Regions from separate parts of the Homo sapiens genome. Here region 2 is linked to region 1. The links are contacts of gene promoters, found by promoter capture Hi-C in blood cells and fetal thymus (Javierre and others, 2016). All regions are on one chromosome and are shown on one strand. The core of a region is centred on a gene start or on the middle of the fragment in contact, and the rest is flanking DNA. Distances in the headings are between cores, read along the strand shown.

The links. The method cuts DNA at HindIII sites, captures the fragments that hold promoters and counts their contacts. A CHiCAGO score of 5 or more calls a contact.
Region 2: a contact is called between a fragment that was not itself captured here and the fragment with the promoter of CCDC13-AS1 in region 1, in 3 of 17 cell types (M2 macrophages, M0 macrophages and M1 macrophages). The highest score is 8.2, in M2 macrophages.

What each region holds. Positions count from the first base shown.
Region 1 is chr3:42,729,751-42,734,435 of GRCh38, forward strand. It overlaps CCDC13-AS1 (CCDC13 antisense RNA 1), which reads left to right and starts at 2,825. Exons shown (of 4, transcript NR_046732.1): 1 at 2,825-2,908. CCDC13 (coiled-coil domain containing 13) reads right to left here. Exons shown (of 16, transcript NM_144719.4): 11 at 3,720-3,859; 12 at 3,137-3,220; 13 at 717-839. RefSeq lists enhancers at 695-1,194, 2,547-2,841, 3,371-4,056, 4,057-4,685 and a silencer at 2,547-2,841. The HindIII fragment of the contact is 15,297 bases long and covers 1-4,685 here.
Region 2 is chr3:42,626,621-42,631,305 of GRCh38, forward strand. It overlaps NKTR (natural killer cell triggering receptor), which reads left to right. Exons shown (of 17, transcript NM_005385.4): 7 at 3,926-3,955; 8 at 4,551-4,685. All of the region lies in intron 1 of ZBTB47-AS1 (ZBTB47 and NKTR antisense RNA 1), which reads right to left. Among named protein-coding and RNA genes, the nearest start is that of ZBTB47, 25 kb to the right of the region's middle. RefSeq lists an enhancer at 4,432-4,685. The HindIII fragment of the contact is 2,871 bases long and covers 449-3,319 here.

The DNA of each region.
Region 1 (4,685 bases), core at 1,575-4,074:
CCTTTCACTGAATTCAGCCAGAATTGCTTTCTATTGTCTGTCATCAAAGAGCCTTGACTGATACATGATATAGCCTGTTAGGGCAGAAACTCAGTGGTGTGCTTAATATTTTTCAGTGTGGAGGTCACATGGTTGAGCCATGTGTTGGCCTGGACACCTGCAATTCTTGCCAAAAGGATCATTTGAGCGAGGAGCACTGATTTATCTGAACGGAAGTCTGTCAACAACCCTTTAGAGAAAACCATACCTCCTGGTCCAGTGCCTCAGGCCTCGTGCTTCCCTCCCTGCCTCCCCAGCTATCAGCACCTCTCTTGTTCTTTCCAATTCCAGATGTCAGTCTAGCTTGTGTTTTCTTCCCACCAAACCCTCCAGCAGCACCAAGCACAGTGCCAGGCTCATCACAGATTTTAATTATTGATGGATTGATTTGACTGATTTACTTCTGGGTGTCTCTCCCCCGAGACTCCCAGCAATGTCCACATGCCATACAACAGTCCCATTGGGTGCATGTAGAATGGGGCTGTTCCTAAGGGCAAAACACAGTGTGACGACAAGGCCCCAAGGTTGTGGGGCGCATGAGTTGTGGCTAGGAATGCCCTGGACCAACACTGGGAGCCGAGCTCTCAGGTGAGGAGGACCCAGTCATAAATGAGGCCTGGCCCCAGTCCCCACCACATGCAGGCCTATGGGAGAGATCCCTGGGTGCCATGTGTTACCGTTTCTGCAGGACAGTGACAAACTCGGTGAGCCGGTCACGCTCCACCTCGGCAGCCTGCCAGAGGGCCTTGATCTCTGACACTTGTGCCTGCCAGCCTTTTTGTTCTGGGGAGTCCGAGAACCTGGGACCAGGGTGGAGGGCAGAGGGCAGAGGTCATCCGAGGCCTAGAAATAACACTTACCCCTGTGATGGTTGGAGGGACTAGAAGGACATTCAGGGCGAATGTCAGCCAGAGCAAAGGAAGCAAACCCAGTCCCTCTAGGTCCTCCCCTGCTGGCTTCTTTGCCCACCATTCCTGGTCCTGCTGAAGTCCCTAGGCTCCAAAGCTGAACCTACCAGAACTAGAGTTACACTGGTACCTCTGTCCATCCAAGCCCTGTGGGGGCCTGGAATTAGTCTGGTGCTGTGGCAGGTGGCTCTTGGGGACCTGGGGTGCCCTGGGTATCTGTGTGGCCTTTGGGGCCTGGCTGCCCTACCCAGTGTCAGGTGTGCCCAGTCTCTGTGTCCCTGCCAGTCTCTCCCAGCCCTCCTGCATCTTCTGGCTTGGTCCCCAAGCCCAGCCCACTTTCCTGGAGCCTGTGCATTTGGCTTTGTGACTTGTTCAATTTTCTCCAGCCCTAAGCCAACCCATCACTGCTTCCCTCTTACCTGCTGGCTGGAGCCAGGACAGAAGGTAAACTCTGCCCCCCAACTTCAACCCCCCAGAGCCCACATGTGAGTTCCAAGCTGCTCTCCGCTGTGCCCCCACTTTTCCCAGTGAGACCCTGAGCTTACTTTTCTAGCAGTACAGGGCATAGGGAAGGCTGCAGAGCTGGGCAGTGTACTGAAAACTGGGCTGGGGCATGTGATCCTGAGGGCTGACTTCTCGGTGGTCTTGGGCAGGTCTCTTCCTCTCTCTTGGCCCCAGTTCCCCCACTAAACATTGAGAGGGGTGGTTTAGATGGGCTCCGAGAACTGCAGACCCCTCTGTGACTCCTAAATATGCTCTAAGGCCTTGCTACTACAAGTGGTCTCTGAATCGGTGGCTCTGGCATCTCCTAGCAGCTTGTTAGAAATGCAGAATCCCAGGCTTTACCCCAGACCTGCTGAATCAGAACCCACACTTGACCTGGCTGATCAGCAGGGGCTCTGTGTGTGCACTGCAGTTTGGAAAGCCCCATTCATTTCCCCAGTTCTAGAATGTGGGAAGAGGAGGAGCAGGAGCAAAGGGCCGATTCTTCACTCTGCCCTCCTCCCAGGCACCCCACCAGAGTCACCTGAAGGGAATGGGTTCAAACCATGCCAGCCCGAATAGACATACTCTCTGGGATCACTCTGCCCTGTGAATTCCTGTCCTGTCACCTGTGGGAGGGGACTGTAAGCTCCATGAGGGTAGGGCCCACACATGGTCGAGTTTAGTAAGTATTTGTGTGTTGTGGAAGAAACAAGCCTGACAACCAGCAGTCTGGGCAGCCAAGGCACAGAGCAGCTCCTGTATTTCTGTGTGGCACAGAGGTCACAGCCACACAGGCCTGGAAGGGGCTCGAAGGGGTCATCTTGTCCATCTTCCTGCTCTCTTTACTGTGACTAAAACCTCAGAGAGGCAGAGCCTCCCCAATCTCCCTGTGCTGTGACAAGACCTCCCACCCTAAGGAGCGTGGCACATGCCTTGTGGCTCAGTGTCAGCCCACTCTCCCCAAGTGCCTTTATGACCCCAGCCTGATGGGTGGGGCAGCTTTGGCCCACAGACCCTATGCTGCCAAGTGTCAGCAGCATGCTGTCCCCCACTTTTCGGGGATAGCAGCCCAGAGAAGGACCAGTTTGCCTGGAGCCACAGAGATGAGGGACTGGGGCCACTTGGAGGCTTTGCCTGGAACCTGAGCTGACCTGCCTGAGGGGTCAGGGTGGGGAGTGTTGACAGCAGGAGCATGGCTCCAGTGGACAGTGGGCAGGGCTCGGGACAGGGCTTAGAGGCAGGACAACGCTGTCCTTTGTCTATGGGCTGGCAGTAGGAACAAAGGGCCCATTTACACCCTCTGGCTTGATTCTGTCAACAAAGAGGGGGCCCAAGGTCTGAGGGGATATCAGTGGGAACCCATATCATGTGAAATTCTCCCCTTAGAGGCTGATTCTCAATGAGCAAGAGAAGATGAGGGAAGGTGCTAGAAGCCAGGCCCAGGAAGGTTCCTCAGGTTAATTCTCACGTAGCAGGTAGGAACCCTAGCCTGGGAGTCAGAGGCCAAGATTCTAGTTCTGAAGCTGCTTACTCTATCATCTTGGACAGGACTTCCCTGATCCTCCCTGTCTTTATGTAACCTTGGAAGAGTCCCTGGACTTTGCCTGGCCTCAGTTTCCCCTCCTTTTAATGGGATGGCAATACTGGTTGAGCAATCAAGAATGGGAAAAAACTGTGAGAGTCCGGGGGTCGGGGGTCCATACCTAGGTGAGGTCCTGTGGGGACTGGGCAGGGAAGGCCTCGTGAGAGCAGATTCCACCAGTGTGTGGCCCAGGCTGGTCACAGAGCTGTGTAAAGGCGGAAGGGGCCCATCAGCCTGGGAAGGCAGACCAGGCCCTACTGGGCCTCACCTCTGCATGTGAGGTGGAGCAGTGGCCAGCAGGGGTCCAGGAAACCCTTGCAGCAGTCCTGTGGATTTGCTGCCCTTCTTTCCAGAACTCTTGTTTGCTCAAAATGAGACAGAACAGGAGACACCAGAGCCTTGAACAACCCAACACGGGTCTGTTTGAAGGCCCCAGGGGCAGAAAACTTTTGAGGCCAGCTCAGAAAGGCTCTTACAGAGAGCTGCAACCAGCATGCTCTTGAAGTGATAAAATCTGGGCCTAACCGGCTCATTTCTGCAGACGCAGAGCTAATGTCATAGGAGAGGCCCACGTATTGGAAGAACAACAGCATAGTCATCTTAAAATTGCACCTGTGGCTTCCCATCAGAGGTAGCAAGAAACAACCTTTCTTCCGAATAATTAATGTTCACTTTCCAACCCCTCCCTCCCATTGTTTTCTTACCGAGAAGATCCAAGCCTGCCAACATGATCGCCTGCTGAGGCCGGGGACTTGGTCAGGCCTGGGTCCTCCAGGAACTGGGTATAGGCAGGGCTGACCTCGCGGCCACTGGACCCCTCACCCACTCCTTTATTCCGAAGATACTGTAGGAACAGATGTGGGTTCCATCCTCAGGGCTTTGGCTCAGAGGCCTAGAGAAGGCAGGAGGGGATCTTGGCTTGATTTCGGGGCTTTCAGAGGATATGAAAGAGGCTTCTTTTCAGGAGTGAAAAGCGAGGCCTGTTTGGTGAAGGCACTACTTGCATGATAATGACATCTAATAATGCCTCTCTTCAGAAAGAAAGCTACATGGTGTGAGGACGGTGACTGGGCCAGGAAGCTGTTCTACATTCAGGTTCCAGAGGGAGGTGCACGGCCCTGCATGCGGGGCAGGTCAGAGACTGACGTCTCTGAGTGGGTCCGCTTCTCCAGGCGGCCCCACCCACATGTGGTTGAACACCAGGTGTGACTTGAGGCCAGCTGCCTTCCTCAGCTGGAACACCTGGACCTTCCAGACACCTGCAGCCAGAGAGGCTGGCAGGGACTCAGTGAGGGCAGGCAGCCTTGGGTGGAGGCTAAGCCTGCCAGGCCCCCACCCCTCCCTCAACCCCTTCCTCTTCTGGATACCTGCTGGGGCTGGACTGGACAGGAACATTAGAGGACCCCCAGCAGGAGGTCAGGCCACCAGAGTGGACAACCGGTGTAAGCCCCTAACAACCTGGCTTGTCCCCCAGCCCCACCCATTTTGAGAAAACTCGAAACGTGTGCCGACTTAAGTCTGGTGGGTAATGCTTGGCCCCCATTCAGCTGGTGACCTCGGAGGTAGGAACAGTCTTCTCCTGTGTGCCTGGAGAAAGGACAGTGGTGAGGTGAAGATGCTGGAATCTTCCCCTTCAGACTTCCCTCCCCAGTGAGCCAGGATGGGGAGCA
Region 2 (4,685 bases), core at 634-3,133, 100 kb before region 1:
GAACATTTGCTCATTAACTCCTGAAAGTAGTCTGTTGTGATACGTCACCAAACAAAGGTTTCAAATGTAGAAGCATGAAAGGTTCTTTAATTATTTGATGTGAATTAGTTAAAAGTTCCTTGAAATTTTATTTTGGATGATCTTAACTCACTTTTTTCTAATGAAATTTTTGCTTTCAACTGGTAGTAACTGGTCCTGGGCATTCAGATTTTTATATTTATGTATGTATGCAAGATACACTATTCTCTTTTGAGAAAATGTTGTCTTAGCTAATTTCTGGGATTTGTGAAAGGAAATGTAATATGTTAATAGCTATTATTGGCACTCTATGTTACAATATTAAGGATCTAAATAGATTCCCACTTAGCCACGATGCTTTTCTTAAGCATAATTCATCTCTACGTAAATATCCCATATGAAAGAAAATTTAGAGCCCTCCATTTAAAAAAGCTTTCTTGCTCTGCATAAAACTTGAAAATAATTAATTTCAAAGTTATATTGATATTAAAACATAGATTCAGTCTTGTCTTAAAAGTGTATTACAATTTATTTCTTGCCATTTTTGTGTAAAATTTACAGAAAGAGTGTTACACCGTGCGCTCCAAAGGTAATGTCTCATTACTCTAAGGCTCTCTCTCTCTTTGCCTTTATCTCTTTAATTCTGTTGTTATGTGCATTGAAACATTTTAAGAAAAAAAAAAACTTTCTGCTTTATCTGTATAGCAGCAGTACATGTAAAACAAGTGCATTTTATTTTTCATGGTTAATCCTGGGAACTATATTTTAACTTCAGTGGCTTGTTTCCACCAAGTTCCTGTACATCTTCTGGTGGGGGAGTGGGGTTATTAGTTTATAGTATGGTTTTAGTTCTCATTTCAGTGTGGAATTAGTCATTTCTGTATAAGGGCAAAAGGTTCTCTGATAATGGTATAAAACTATAGATTGTTTTTGGAGTAGCAGTGACACTTGTCAATTTCTAAGATTTATAAGGCTTAAATACCTTGCACACATGTTTTTTAAAGTAGATTCAGGGGTCGGGAAAACTGAAAAATCACTGTCTTTAAGTACAAGAGAAAAATGGAAATGCATAAATATTGAAAGGTTTTACAATTTGAAATGTTCTTTGTGGTTTTTTCTTTTTTAGGTATGTTTTCATAAGCATATATAAATTTAAACATTTTTGATAGCCTCTGGCCTTAACTTACTGAGCATGTGTCACCATTGCACAGCTCTTTAAACAGCCGCTTTTAAGATCAATGCAATTTTTCTTTTAATTGAAGATTTTGAAAGATTAAGAGTTAGTGAGATGAGCTCTCTGCCTCTTTTAGTAGAATTGAATAGTCTGGATTGTGGATATTATTTCTCTCCGCCCTTTTGTAACCCTCTTTGGCTAATGTCCTCTGTTCATCCACGTATTAGCCAAGTGCCAGTAACCCTGCTTTACATTGGGATTTCTACTCCTGGAATGTAGGTTGAGAACCCCAGAGGGCTTCTTTTTGTTAAATACTTTTAGTATTCTTAATATGTAATCTAATCCAATTAAAGTGCAGACTTATATTTCTGTATCTTGAGTTGCAGATGCAAGTAATGGACTTTAATCATTCATATCAGGTTTAGGCACTATGGGCAGGCTGAGTTGTCCTTGAAATAGTCATTCGTGTCTTCATTTGTTTTCTGCACTACTGCTATAAAGGACCAAGTTTGCCTATTCTTGGCAGTTTTCATTTGAATTAAAAACTAAACTTGAATGTCATAAAGATAGCTATTCCATCCTCAAATTGAGTCTCAAGTAGTATGTTGCTGCATCGCTACACTACTCTGGAATGTTTTATTCCACCATTTTCTCCAAAGGTTTGCCATAAAGTGGTTTTTACAGCCTTTCTATCAGCCAAGATGGCAAATTGAATTGGGCTCTTTATGTTTTAAGAAAAATTTGCAGGCTTTCCCCAATACTGCAGGATCTGTGAGTCATGGGAGGAACGGATCAAAGAAGGAGAAGGAATGTATCTAATCAGGAAACCATACATCGTTTTTACTTCTAAATATTTGGGGCTGATCCCTTACACTGTAGAAAAATTTACTTTTTTAAAAGCCCTTTTGGCTGGGTGTGGTGGCTCATGCCTATAATCCCAGCACTTTGAGAGGCTGAGGCAGGTGGATCACCTGAGGTCAGGAGTTTGAGACCAGCTTGGCCAACATGGTGAAACCCCGTCTCTACTAAAATTACAGAAATTAGATGGGCCTGGTGGCGCATGCCTATAATCCCAGCTACTCAGGAGGCTGAGGCAGGAGAATCACTTGAATCCGGGAGGCAGAGGTTGCATTGAGCCGAGATCATGCCATCGCACTCTAGCCTGGGCAACAGAGTGAGACTCCATCTCAAAATAAACAAACAAATAAAAATAAAAGCACTCTTTACATCTTTCATATAATAGAGTCACTAGCTTCTGTACCAATTTCTTGTCTTTAGTGTACTTTGGTAAAGTTTTATAATTAAAGCACATTTCTATCTTGAAGTTACCATCCAAGGTGGTTTCTGGATGCTAGTTTAATGATTTAAACACTAGTGGCTCACTAATTCACTAGATAGTTTTTGTTCTGTTTTCTTTTTGCTGCCTGTTTTTATTTTTATAATTACATTGGCATGAATTTCCACTTTTCAATCTTCTAAGGAATATTTGAGATTTTTGCTTTTAAAACTTAATATTTCCTTTAAAATTCTGGAACTTCTTAAGTTGACATTTTAATTTTTTTAAATTAAATTCTGTAGTGCTCTTACAGAACCGAATATTCTTAATGTAAGTATAAGCATTACAAATCCTTGTAGAATAAATATTTTTAGCATTGTTACGAAGGTTAAAAACTGGGTTTTGTTCACTTACATGTCTTAAAATTGCCTTAAAATGAATACAGAAATTTATATGGCAGCTTCTAGTACAGTTGACTGCTTTAACATGGCCTGACATCTAGTGATATTTTTCTCTCTTTCAAATTTCTGTTTTCTAGCTCTTAAATATCTGTTTCTCATTCTTATAAATCAAGATGCTTGTAGTATATAATTCTGAGACTAATTATCTGCTTTTGAATTTTTTCCACTGCAATTCATATAATGTGAAGATCTGTGAAAATGCTATGGGAAAACTAGCTTGGGTTCAAAATATCTTAACCAAATATACCCTGTAGGCTTCCCAAGAGTGACTGTCTGACAGTTGGTGACTGTAGAAGAAGCTGGTTGGGTGTTTTCTGGGCCAAGGAAATTTAAAATGTCTGCAATGTTATCCATCATTACTTTTTGCTGTCAGAAGGGATGGCAGATTGAAGCTTTTCTCCCTATCGCATTTTCAGAGTTGCCGTGTCAGAGCTTCACCTTGGGTGAAGGAAGATGGGCAGGAATTCTGGAAACAGAACTCCTGAGACCTACCTCTGCCTGCCTAAAAATGTGGACTGACTCAGTATGAGAAATAACAAGAAAACATTTAAGTGTTTGGGGCAAATGTTAATCACTTTCTTTCCATAGGGCAAATAGGAGGTGCTTTTCTTATTTAATTACGCTGATAAATTTTGAGGGTTTTTTTTTTTAAGTGTTTTGTTTTGTTGTTTTGGAGTTGAGAGTAACTTTAATTTTTATGTGTATTCATGCTGTGTATTTATGGCTACAAGTCAAACTGATTTCATATGTATGCATACATATAGTCTAATAGAGATGATTGTAATTCATTATAATCTTGAGTTTTTTAAATTAGTAAGATGGCTACTATTGCTGTTTTGGGGTTTTTAAGGTTAGATATATATCATGTTTAACTTTTTCCCCTATCTTTTTATCTTTACTTCTTTGTTCTCTACATGCTGTGTTTAAACCTTTCTGCTCTCTTCACCTGAACACATCGTGTTTGACATCATCTTTGTGTTGATGTTTATTACATAGTACCACAAAGCCTGCTCCACACCTGGATGGGTAAGAGTTACATTCTTACTACATTGGGGAAGTGTTTGGGTGGCCAGCCATAAAGAGAGATTGGACCATGGTTGAGCCCTCAAGGGAGCGCTCTTGATGTCTGGCTTAATCTCATAGCAAAAGCTATTCCTTAGGATCACAGAATATACTTGTTTTGAGACCCCATGGCTCTCATGTGACTGAAGGAGTCAATCTGTGCTCATGGATGGGCTTCTCAGCAATATAATTCTTTTTATTTTTTATTTTTCTCTTCAGTTTTCCAAAATGGGTCGGATAGTAAGCAGTACAATATCATGTGTCCCTGTAAGGAAGGTTCCCAAGTACCAAGCGAAATCTGAATGTTACCAGACTCTTTACCCTAAAATGGTTAAGAACCATTGTTTTAAAGGCAGAAAACTGAGGCCCAGTTTGCATAATCGTTTCCTTTTATGAAGCAGATTTCAAGTTCTCATTCCATTCTAGTTGCTTCATACAACAAACAGTTTGGTTTTATTTTCAGGTCTGTGGACATGTCATTGATTACAGTTAATTGTCTTGATTACTGTTTATAGCTTAATTATCAAACCAGTTGTTTCTTGAATTTGTATTATGACAGGGTGCATGTAGTCTTTGGACTGGTTATTTCTGGTTTTGAAGTAATCGAACAAATTGAAAATCTGAAGACCGATGCTGCAAGCAGACCATATGCAGATGTGCGAGTTATTGACTGTGGAGTACTTGCCACAAAATC